Regions from separate parts of the Homo sapiens genome. Here region 1 is linked to region 2. The links are contacts of gene promoters, found by promoter capture Hi-C in human tissues and cell types (Jung and others, 2019). All regions are on one chromosome and are shown on one strand. Each heading gives the region's core, a stretch centred on a gene start or on the middle of the fragment in contact. The rest is flanking DNA. Distances are from core to core; before and after follow the strand shown.

What was found. The method cuts DNA at HindIII sites, captures the fragments that hold promoters and counts their contacts. A contact is called where the count stands out against the background at its distance.
Region 1: a fragment that was not itself captured here is called in contact with the fragment with the promoter of WLS in region 2 in 1 of the 25 tissues and cell types used here (hippocampus).

Annotation. Positions count from the first base shown.
Region 1 is chr1:67,825,326-67,831,564 of GRCh38, reverse strand. The region is part of intron 1 of GNG12 (G protein subunit gamma 12); the gene reads left to right. Among named protein-coding and RNA genes, the nearest start is that of GNG12-AS1, 3.8 kb to the left of the region's middle. The HindIII fragment of the contact is 7,209 bases long and covers 1,025-6,239 here.
Region 2 is chr1:68,230,081-68,236,627 of GRCh38, reverse strand. It overlaps WLS (Wnt ligand secretion mediator), which reads left to right and starts at 4,105. Exons shown (of 12, transcript NM_024911.7): 1 at 4,105-4,434. The coding sequence starts at 4,329. The HindIII fragment of the contact is 13,703 bases long and covers 1-6,547 here.

The DNA of each region.
Region 1 (6,239 bases), core at 3,380-5,879, 410 kb after region 2:
ATAAATAATGCAGTCCTATTTTTGCTGTATTTAACTCATGTAATTTACTAGATATCGAACCCCCAACAGGGCACACAGCACTTAGATTTGTGTAGAAATATATGAAAATGTGAATCTGTGTTTCACAAGAGCCTGAAAAAAATAGAATTATAAAAATTTCCTGTCCAGAAAGCTCCAGTCTTACTTGAAAGCTCTCTAACAATTAGATTTGTGGATTTGTGTTGTCACTTGTTAGAGAATATCGGTGGTTTATTAAAGTGTGAGAGCAAAGGGCTTCATGGTCAGAAAACTTGAGGAAGTGGTTAGCCAATATCAAATTAGTTTTTTTTAAAATTAGAATTATGTGATTTATTGTGTTTTGCTTTGTTTTGGAGTTTTATGTCAGCTTAAGCTTAACCTAGGAAGGCAAGTTGTGAAAGCAAGTAAATTTTTCTGAGCCCTAACTTGGAAGAGAAGCTTGTTTAACAGTGATTTGGGGTGTTGGCTTTGGAGTCAGACAGACTTAGATGAAAATATTAGCTATTTAACCTTTTTCAGTCTGATTTATAAGATGGGGATAATAATGGTCTCTATCTGTAGGGCTTTACAGAAAGTATATGAAAACTTTGTCTTTGGAAAACACTTAAACTGGACTTAACACGCAGTACATGGTCAAAATTATTAGATATTTATCTAGCTTGTTCAAGCAGCAGGCTACTGGATAAATTGCAGGGTGGCAGCTTGAACCTTCCGGAAATGCTAGATAGAGCAATTTCAAATTCTACAGAAAGTAACTGGTGTGTGTGTGTTTGTGTGTGTGTATGTGTGATGTTTCTACCACAGCAATATGAATAATTATGATTAAAGGATTAATAGTTTTAATATGCTTTTAGTGCTAAAGTTACAGTTGCATAGTAATTTTGACAGTCAGAAACATTGCATTATCCTTTACATTTAAAGAGAATTTATATTTCAAATAGTTGTGTTTATTAGCCCTAGGTAAGAAATTAAGCCAGGAACAGAAGTATTCATCTTTAACCAAGTGTAATTCTTAATCAAAGTATGAAAACATGTGACCCAAGGGTATCCGGTTATTTACTTTTGCATGTGCTGATGTCCAAGGCCAACAGATAAGCCATAAGAAGTGTTAGGCTGATTGTGAGTCGTTGTTTTATTTGTAAACTTTCATGAGATTGGGTGTTCAGTTAATTCAGGAAATCTACTCATCACATTGTTGACTCATTTCCTAAAATCTAAAAAATTTTTTAAATGCCTTCATCTTGCCAGGCGCTGTGGCTCACACCTATAATCCCAGCACTTTGGGAGGCCAAGGTGGGCGGATCACCTGAGGTCGGGAGTTCAAGACCAGCCTGACCCACATGGAGAAACCCCATCTCTACTAAAAATACAAAATAAACCAGGCGTGATGGCGCATGCCTGAAGTCCCAGCTACTCGGGATGCTGAGGCAGGAGAATCACTTGAACCCAGGAGGCGGAGGTTGCGGTGAATCGAGATCGTGCCATTGCACTCCAGCCTGGGCAACAAGAGCAAAAACTCTGTCTCAAAAAAAAAAAAAAAAAAAGCCTCCATCTTTAAAACAAACCCTTTAAAGCTTCTTGTTTTTGTCCTAATGCACGTCAGGTGCACAGAATTGGGCTGAACCAGGATCTTAGCTCATGCCACAGATGATTTCTCATTTTACTAATTGCTCCACTGGGACACAGAGATGTGGTTTATAATAATTTTAAATAACTATAAAGGGTACAGTGTGATTATTAATTGTTTCTTGCCTATGACATTATGCTCTGAAACAACTGAAGCATTTGATTGAGTAAATTATTGATTCGTTTCACTCCTAGAACATAACATAATGATTTCTGGCTCATACTTCTAGGTGAGTAGACTGTGAGCAAGTTACTTAATCTATGCTTCAATAAGTGTTGTGAGGAATAAATGAGCTAATCTATGTATATAGCATTTGGAATAGTGCCTGGTGCATAGTCCACATTCAATAAATGTTAACATTAAATTATTGAAATTTTCTCTAAATGTTGTATAATGAGCATGCATTATTTTTGTAACAGGAAAACAGCTATACAAAATTTTAATATTTCCCCCAAATCTAAAAAAAGCTCAGTAATTTAAATAGTCCTGCCAAATAGTACTTAAAAAGTAAGAGAATTAGACAATCATCATTTTGTCTTTTAAATGTGAAATGGTTTGCAATATTAATTTGTTAAACAAGTTAATTCTTCCAAATCTCAATTCCATTTTCTTTTTTATTAGAGACTTTAAAAAATCAGTAATACATGAAGTCTGTTACAGTTTAAAATGGGGAAAAGCAGTATGCACAGTTACATTGTGTTATTACAATTACAGCTAGCTTAAAAATTATTTTTAAACCATAAGAAAAGCCTAGAAGAAAATACAGACAAATTGGTGATGGGATTATGGTGCTCTCCCACCCCCAACCTGCTTTTCCCCTATTTTCCACAATGCGCCTATATATATACTAAAATATAATTCATTTGTGTAATAGTTACTAAACAAATCTGGTTTATTAACTACAAATACTAAAAAAAATTTGCGTAATAGTTACTAAAAAACAAATCTGGCTTGTTAACTACAAATAGCAGGATTTTATTGTTGTTTTGGAAAAAGCACCAACTTTATGGCAGTTGAATGTCCTTCGGTTAAATGTCAAAACCTTTGCAGTGAGAATTGTTTAGCGGTAAAAGAGAAGGCCTTTCAGAAGCTTGTAGTTTGATCTTCATGAAGAATATTTGAAAAGTCTACCAGTGGGTTTTTAGGATCTGCATATAGACCTAGTCCACCAACCTTGACTTTATGGAAGTTGTGACTTCCCAGATCCAGGCCTGCCTTGATGAGCTGCGTTTTTACAGCACCTTCAGTATATCAGACACCTGGAAGACAGTAATGAGGCAGATATTGGTGCACTTAGTTTAACAGGAAGGTTGGATAGATAAAAACTAATTACAGCACAATTGTATATATTATATATCCTGAGCCCTTTCTAAACTCTTCCCGTATACAGTCTTGCTCAGTTGTCACAACAGCCCAGAGGAGGAAGCTGAGGTTCCTTAAAGGTCTGAACCTTGCTCAAGTTGCAAGGACAGAATTTGACCCAGAAGCATCTTAACTCCACATCTCATGCCCTCTGCACGGAGATGGAGGTGCATCCAGCCAGAGGTGAGAGTGAAGTGGGCTTTATGGAGTCAGTTTTGCTTAAAAACTATAAAACTAATCAAGAGAAACATGAGGAGGAGACTCCTTTTAGGTGACCTTCCTGAGGAGAATCATCAGTGCCTCTCCATCAGGCTTGCCACTCTTTAGCCATAGCAGTTAACACTTCCAAATGGCTGCTGAGACCCAGCAGGCCTGAAGCGCACACAAAGGCCCAGTCCTTGGTGACCCTGTGAAGCCTACCTCTTTCATCCCTGGACTTCCAAAGGGGGTCTGGATAGTACAGATGAAGGAACTGACTCGCTAAATCCTGTTCTAGAACCAGCACATACCCACAGATCCTGACCTCCCCACTTTCCTCCCTTAGGAATGACAGGAGAGTAGTTAACAGGTAGCATGGATCCAGGGCAGATGGTGGAGGTGACTTGACTTAAGATAACTTGTAGCTAGATTATTCCATTTATTGGAGAGTCTCTCTTGAAAATCATATCTGATGTCACTTAAGTGTTTGGTTTATCATGTTAGTCTTTATTGGGTGTCGTAAAAGTGCTCAGTTGTGAAGTGTCTGGTTACCATCCTGTGACAAGGAGGGTTTTTGTCTTCTTTTAATGGGTCTGCATTTCAGAGAATTACTGTATAATAAAAACTGGAGTGTTGGCTGGGTGCAGTCGCTCACGCCTGTAATCCCAGCACTTTGGGAGGCCGAGGCGGGTGGATCACAAGGTCAGGAGAGCGAGACCATCCTGGCTAACATGATGAAACCCCGTCTCTACTAAAAATACAAAAAATTAGCCGGGCGTGGTGGCGGTCGCCTGTAGTCCCAGCTACTTGGAAGGCTGAGGCAGGAAAATGGCGTGAACCTGGGAGGCAGAGCTTGCAGTGAGCCGAGATCGTGCCACTGTACTCAAGCCTGGGCAACAGAGCAAGATGCCATCTTAAAAAAATAAAAAAAAAAACTGGAGTGTTGGAGACTGTTAAGAATTAATACTTTCAGTTCTGCCAGAGGGTTAGTATCTAGAAGTTCTAAGAGATTGGTTGCTAAAATCTTCTGTAATTTTCAGTTTCATTGATTGTATAATAAGTGGGTGACTTTGGGCCCAGAGAGTCAGAAGGCTTTGTATTCTGTATGCTTTCTGACACAGTAGGCCACCACTCCCCTTGCAGGCAAGGTCATGTAATTGACATAGGATCCCCTTTAGTTGACCGAAGAGAGAAGTATAAGCTCTGGTTGAACTTGAGTTTGCGTGATCACACATGCTCACTGGAGTGAAGTCTGAATCAGTTGCCATCTCTGCACTTGCATTGTGTGTAGAGAATTGTCTTGATTCAGAATGGCTTTGTGCAAACTCACATGAGCCCATTGGAGGCAGAATCTTAACTTCATTGATGTGAAATAATCAGGCTTTTATTTAGCTTCAGATGGCACTAGCCAAGACGTCCTTGACCACTGGACACTAAACCCTTAACTCCCCACTGGGACCCTTTGACTCAGACCCCAAGCTTGCAGTTACCTCAAATTTTGTGTTGTTTTGGGGGGATAAATTATTGCAGAGGAAAAACATAAGGTTTTTTCTCAAATGAAGACTCAAACTGAAATCCATTAAATCCCAACATGAGCTAAATCTAAGGGTGGAAAGAGGAATCAAAATCTAAAAGCCTCTTGGACTTTATTGAGGCTTATTGAAGACCTTATTGAGATAACATCATCATACCAAGTTTAACCAGAATCTCAGGCAAATTAGAAAGGTGTAACCTTTAGACTAGGTGCCTGAGCTGTGCCTAGACTAATGAAATCTTCTGAATTATTAGACCATGGCCTGCACATTAGACCATGGGGCTTCATGTGGGTATATAAGGTCATGATTGGCTGTGCAGATAAGTTGTCATGGGAGGGTTGGATGTCTGGCCAAGAAGCAGAAGGAATGGATTGTGACTTCTTGACAGGGATACCTTGAACTGTTATACAGGTTGTTCACTGCACAAAAGTGCCTGGGCAAGGAGGCAAATGGGAGGCTCACATCTGCTAAACAAACAAAACCACATGCATCCTGGAGTAGGATTGCCTCTGCTAGGAGAAAAGGGAACTTCTTTCTGATGCTATCAAGCCTGCAAAAGTCTAGGTGTACATGGAAGGAATGCCTTTTTTTAACACACACAAAGGCACAATATGGCTACCAGCAGCTCTGCTTCTCAAAGCCCCTGTAGCCACAGTAGTCCTCTAGATGCCATCAGCTGGCAGAGTCTGTCACTTAACCATTTGGTTTATCATGTCAGGCTTTATTGGGAAACATATAAACTTCATGAATGTCAGTGGAATGAAGGAATAAAACCATGTTTTCTGTGGTATGTCAGCAAGGTACATGTAAAAAAGTAATACTGATTATATATGCTAGGAAACAAACATTCAGTGGTACACATTGCCTATGATGAGTTTCTTTCTCTTCAATTCATTATTTCTGAGGGGTAGGTAAAGACCAGCACTTTGGGTGCTGTTGACATTGTTTATTGCTACTTAAACACCAGCATGCTCAGTATTGCCTAATACTTGCCAGGGTCACCAGCACCCGTTGTGTAGTTGGCCTGGTGCAGGGAATGGAGTAGTAGTAACTCCTGGGAACGTGGAGAGGGATTCATGTTATTTATTGACCAGCCGTAGGCCTTTTTCCTTGGGGACAGGATGCAAGTAACAGTGGTTGCAGGAGCCTTTGGAACTTACCTATGAGTAGCTGCTGCTTCTGGAAAAAGGCTTCTAGTTTAGGTTAAAAGGTGCGGAGTCTTGTTATCAAAGGTACCACAAACTCAGAGAGTTTGTCTGTGTTCCCCTTAGTACCAACTGGTACTACTTTCTTGCTTTTTTAAGTTGATCCTTTAGAAAGCCTGTAGCCAGAATCAACTTCCTTCTCCTGGCTCCTCTTCTGGGAGGCATTTGCACAGCCTGTAGGATCAGCCATGTTTAGTGAATCTAACTGCTAAGGCAGTGGTCCTGAGGATCAAGGTGCTGGTTCATACTTCGGACCTAGGCCATCTGCTGTTTTCTGGAGACAATACACCTTGT
Region 2 (6,547 bases), core at 2,856-5,355:
ATGGCGTGATCTCAGCTCACTGCAACCTCCGCCTCCCAGGTTCAAGTGATTCTCCCGCCTCAGCCTCCCGATTACAGGCATGCCTCACCACGCCCGGCTAATTTGTATTTTTAGTAGAGACAGGGTTTCTCCATGTTGGTCAGGCTGGTCTCGAACTCCTGACCTCAGGTAATCCGCCCACCTCAGCCTCCCAAAGTGCTGGGATTACAGGCGTGAGCCACCATGCCCGGCATATCCCAAACACTTTGAATAAAATGATGAATAAATCAGAATACCTAATATAAAGTCTAGTGGAATGGAGTTGAAATGATCAGTTTTTATTGACAGAGTTGGATTTGCCCTTGGATCATTTCAGTCTCTGGGATAATCTACCTAATGACAATGACTCAAAACAAACATTTCCTTGGCAGCTGGAAGTTTTTAGAACAGATGTTTCTATGTTAAAAACCACTGAGTATTGTCAAAGTTCAATTCTAGATGTTGTCCTTATTAACACACTTGTCAAGTAAAGTTAACCACCTAGACTTCTCCTAACATATGCTTCAAACAGTAATCACAATATGATAAAAATTTTAGAGCTGAGCAATAATCAGTCATCAGTTTTACTAGTTTTACTAGTTTTTAAACACAAAATTATTGATTTCCCTTAGTTTCCTAAATATAATAATAAATATTCATATCTTACAAGAATACCATGAAATAGTACTATTATTCCCATTTTACGGAAGGGAAAACTCTTCTGTAAAGAGTGAAGGTTTTACAGAAGCCTCAGAGTTGGTCTGTGAAGCCTCAGAGGTGGTAAGTAACTGCATAATGGCCTATAATCACATGAAACAAGGGGCAGATGGGATCTGGGTTCCAAACCAGATCCAGCTGACTCTAACTGTCATGTTCTTTTCTATTCACCTGTGTTGTCCGCTTGGGAAATAAAGATTCACAGTCACTTTTAATGTTTAAAAAGATGTGATAGAAATTCAATTTTTTTAAAGCAGCCCATGGTGATGAATACTACAGGTGTCTACATCCCACCAAGTTGGGCATTATTGGTAATCTCATGACAGAAGTACTGATTAGCAATTAGAAATATCCCTTTTTAATTAAAATAACTATTTAATAAGTGCTCTTTTAAAGCAGGGGATCATCTTGGTGGAGAACCAGCAACTCATTTACAGATGAGAAAACTGAAACCTAAGGAGTTAGGCTAGTTACTCTGCAGAGATGCATTTCAGAGCAGAGGGGGTGGGGTGTATTGTAGCAGCTCATTAAAAACTAAGTCAAGGAGTTCACTAATCTGAATAAATCACTTCTACCACTCCAGACATTTTTTATGGATCCAGTTTATATTTGAAGTGGACGGGGGCCAGGCGTGGTAGCTCACACCTGTAATCCCAGCACTTTGGGAGCAGAGGTGGGTGGATCACCTGAGGTCAGGAGTTCAAGACCAGCCTAGCCAACATGGCGAAACCCCATTTCTACTAAAAATACAAAAATTAGCTAGATGTGGTGGTGGGCACCTGTAATCCCAGCTACACAGGAGGCTGAGGCAGGAGAATTGCTTGAGCTCAGGAGGCAGAGGTTGCAGTGAGCCAAGATCGTGTCACTGCACTGCAGACTGGGCGACAGAATGAGACTCTGTCTCAAAAACAAACAAACAAATAAATAAACAAAAAACCCACCATTTTTTCTCTACCCTCTTATGCATAGTGCTTGGGGGTCTGTGGACTAAACTGACAAAAGACAGATTAGCAAGGCAAAAGACAAATTTTTGTTCACATATATCAAATGTATGTGGGCATTCATAACCACTCAAGGAGGCAGTTGTTAATAGAATTTGGAGCTTATATTCTATCTTAATAGGAGAAGAAGTGTATTTATGAGAAAACAAATGACTTTTAGGAAAGATAAATGGGCCCTTAGGAGTGCTGGGCTCAGAACATGATACCCCAAGGTATCTGAGTACTTTGAACTGAAGGACATTGGAAGGACAACAATTCTGTCTACTTCATCCTTTCTGATAGTACCTGGTGTTTGCCAAAGTAGAGGTAATTAATTACTATTCAGTGAATAACATTTGGACTGGGGGGGGGTTCCTCTGGGGCAGGTGCAAGTACTTTGACATCTTGGTATCCTTGAGTGCTTAAGAAAGAAAGCCTGGAACATGTTAAAGGCTCAATAAGTGACTTGGATAAAGAGTTGAATGAGAGAATAGATAAACAGCAACCACAGTCATGCATTGCTTAATGATGGGAATACCTTCTGAGAATGTGTTGTTAGGTGATTTGTCATTGTGCAAATGTCATAGAGGGCACTTACATAAACCTAGGTAGCATAGCCTACTACAGACCTAGGCTACACCGTGTAGCTGATTGCTCCTAGACTACAAACCTGTCTGGCATGTTACTGTACTGAACACTGTAGACAACTGTAATGCAATAGTAAGCACTCTGTGTATCTAAACATATCTATAGAAAAGGTGTTGTAAGAATATGGTATTATAACCTTATAGGACTACTGTCACACACACGGTCTGTTGTTGACTGAAACATCCTTATGTGACACATAATGATGTGTATATCCTCAGAACTGTTAAGAACTATTAGATGTTGAAGAGATGGAGTTTTGTATGCATAAAGTTTGGTGCTTGTCCTTGACAAGTCTCTGTTCTATTTGGAGATTAGAAATGAATGCTTCTATTAAGTGTAACCTGCATGACATCTTTTATAAGGGCAATGAAAATTCAGGAACAGAGTAGAGGAGGAGAGAGGACTGGGAAAAATAGTCTCTTGGCATGAAGAGGGTGTGTAAGGATGGGAGGGACAAGAAACAAGATGTGTGGGTGGTGGTGGTAGAAACTGCACGTTTGGGGAGCAGGGTGGGGTATTTACCAAACCAAGGGTCTATTGAGTAAGGTGAGTTGTACTGGCCAAGCGGCCAGTTTATGAAACATGGAAAAACCAGGCCCAGAAATTTAGGCTTGATAGAGCAGGAAATCTCTATCGGGAGCCCCGCCCCTCTTTTTATGGAAGTTAAGTATAAATATAAATATATGATTTCTCACAAAGAGACAACAAACATTGTAACTTAATATAGGTACCCTCTAAACCAACTAAGATCTCTTTAGACCTTTGAAATACAAACTGTGGGCTTGCTTTCACATTCACTTATTCATTCCACAAAAGATTATGGGGCACCTACTAGAGCTAGCATTTTGTTAGGCACCATGGGGGGTACAAAGAACAAAAAAAACTTGGTCCCTATTCCCCAGGAGTTTACAGCTCAGTGGTGGAGACAAACGTGTACACAAATCCTTACAATAGGAGGTAAAAATGTAAATACAGGATTGTAGGGGCTCAGTTCCCAGAGATACTGCATGGAGGTGGTGTGGAAAATTAGAAAGATTTTTTAACACTAGTTGGTTTTGGATCAGGTTTAACATTGATGGAGTAGAACATGTTCTCTTTAAGGCAATAACCAGGGTTAAGGCTGTGGAAGCACATGTGCTGGAGTAACGAACAGTGGTCTGATTTGGCTGGAGAGCAAGTTTCCTCAAGGGGCGCCGTGGGGAATTTAGCTGGGTATGTGCCCAATAACCGAGGCTGGGAATCTGGTAGAAAGAAGTCGAGCTGAGACTTTATTCCGCATCTCTGTGTTTTGACTTAGGCATCTATTGGGTCCTTTTAAAAAAAATTCTCCTCCTCTTTCCTAAAGAGAGTTCTAGCAGTTGGGGGTGGGGTGGGGACCATTTCCTAAAGTCAACGCGTAAGTTAAAGGTCTGCAAGGCGGTCCACCGGTGATTTAAATCTCGCACTTCGGAAACCAGAAAAGGAAACCTGTGAGAAGCTGGGCAGGGGGAACCCGCTTAACATCAACAGCAACCCCTAAATGGCATCAGACCTTGGAGAGACAGGTTGCAGGCCAGACTCGGGAGCCAGGCGCCAGCACCCGCCAGAGCTCTGAGCCCCGAACTGGTGGGCAAGGGGTAGAGGAAGAGAGGGAGGGAGGGAGGGAGGAAGCGCGAGAGGGAGGGAGGAAGAAAGGGAGGGAGGCGGCGTCATGTGATCCGCTTCCCTGCTCCTTTAAGCGTCCACAGGCGGCGGAGCGGCCACAATCACAGCTCCGGGCATTGGGGGAACCCGAGCCGGCTGCGCCGGGGGAATCCGTGCGGGCGCCTTCCGTCCCGGTCCCATCCTCGCCGCGCTCCAGCACCTCTGAAGTTTTGCAGCGCCCAGAAAGGAGGCGAGGAAGGAGGGAGTGTGTGAGAGGAGGGAGCAAAAAGCTCACCCTAAAACATTTATTTCAAGGAGAAAAGAAAAAGGGGGGGCGCAAAAATGGCTGGGGCAATTATAGAAAACATGAGCACCAAGAAGCTGTGCATTGTTGGTGGGATTCTGCTCGTGTTCCAAATCATCGCCTTTCTGGTGGGAGGCTTGATTGGTAAGTGCGGAGAGCTGCAAACTTTTCCCCCTTTCTGTCTTTTCGGGCCCCTTCCCTCTTTGCCTCTTGGGCTACTTGTTACAGTATCACTGCCTTGCTTCTATGATCTAATTAGTCCGGCTATTGTGCTTAAGAAAGCAGAGCTCCATGGGGCTCCGTGGGGCACAATCCAGTCTAGTGGCTAAGAGAAAAGGAGGGGAAAAAGTTTTGGCCTAGTTTCAGTATCCACTTGAAAGGCAAGAGGGGGGCGGCGGGGGTGGGAATCTTAAGCATGGCGACGGATCGCGCGAGGAAGCGCTGGGTTACAAAGTTGATTGCTCGCCCCCCCCCCCCCCCGCTTTTTCCCGCGTTCCCCCCCTTTTCCTCTCGGTTCCCTTCCAATCAGCTCCGGGAGGGCAACGTAATCGACTTTATTAGGAACAACAGAAGAGTCGGGGAACTGTGCCCGGCGCAAACCCGGAGCTCTGTTACAAGGCTGAGATACTTGCACGGTTGTAAATGCATTTGGTCGTCTTTGCTAGGGGCTGAGGGTTTGCAATTTGGGGTCCCGACCTTCGCGCCCTCTGCTTTCCCGCCGCACTCCACCCCACGCTCTGCCGTGGACAGGTCCGAATTGTCGGCCGGGAGGTTGGGTGGGATGGGGTGGGGTGGGAGGGAGTCCTTGACCAGCGCCGCGGGAAGTTGGAGAGGTCGGAGGGGAAAAGCGTATCCGAAAGGTGTTGCTTTTGGCCTCCTGCCCACTCGTGAATATCCCTTCCCCCACTACTTAGAGCCCCGAGAGCCGGTGACTGTGAATGTCCCCGTCCTCTTTTGGCGCTTAGGAGAGCGCCCTCAGCTCCCACCACAGCCCCCCGCAGGTGACAGCTCGCCGGCCTCCTCGGCGACAGCGCCCGCCCCGGGAGACCTCCCCTGGCGTGCACCTCCCGGACCTCTCTGAGTCAAACAGGCTTCCGGGTGAAGAAAACCGCCTCACGGACCGTCCACTCGGAAAAACTCCCTTCCCCTCACTGTCTCCCCATCTGCATCCATCCTCCCGCCTCTCTGCACACTCGCGCCCCCCGCCCCCTCAAGATTTGGGACATCCCGGCACAAACTTCAATGCCAACTTTGCAGCGGGCGCGGACGGGAGGTTCGGTTTCCTTACTTCACGGCTTTGTTAAACTTTGCGGAGTGGGGAGTCCACGGAGGGGCTTTCTCCGCGCGTGCCTTTACGGGCGCCCACGCGATGTGGGGTGCGGGGAAAACGCCCGGGGGCGCCGGCGGCGTCGCTGCCAGAGCTGCACAGGCTTGGGCACCTCCAGTCGTGTGCTTGGCGTTTTGTCTCCAGACTTGGGTTTGATGGGAACAAATTAAAGGGAGTTTGGTACTGTAAATCACGGTAACATCCAAGCCAATTGTCTTAAACAAAGGAGAGTGGGTGAAGCTTCATCAAGGAGAGAAATACCTAAAGGAGACAGTGCTCTTTTCTCTGTGTGCATTTATCCACAAAACAGAAAAGGGTTCAGAGTTTTCAAACAATCTCTTATCCCCAGTGTGGGCCAAACAGCTTCACATTTTCTTTCTGGAACCCTCACCCTCAACACACACACACACACACACACACACGCGCGCACACACACACACGGGTTGGCTTTTGTGTTAGGAGCTTCTGTTTGGCTACATGCAATCTCGTTTCCCCGTATTGGATTTTTCGAGGCTCTTAATACCTTCTCTGCTGGGAGCTGAAGGCAGCCTTCCCTGTGCCCTCACAGTGATTATGCAGCGGTTACAATTACACCTCTTGTCTCCCTTGATGAGCAGTTGCAGTTAGATGCCATTGGATCTTGTGTGATTTCAGTGGCAGACCATAATTAAAATTTCTTGCACCTTGTGCTTTCAGAATTAAATTGGCCTATTATCCCTGTCTGACCTTCATCCTCTTTGAGGTTTTTGCACAAGCAGCAAACCATTACACATAGTTTCCTGGTGTTTGTTGGTGTGTTTCTTTTTCTAGGCTGATCTCCTAGCTTTGCAGACAGAGCCCATTATCCAAGAAGTAGGCTTCCTAGGGCACTTCTGAAACTAGTAGGATTTCTGGGATGCTACCACCAAGGAGAAGCCCTAAGGGCACTCG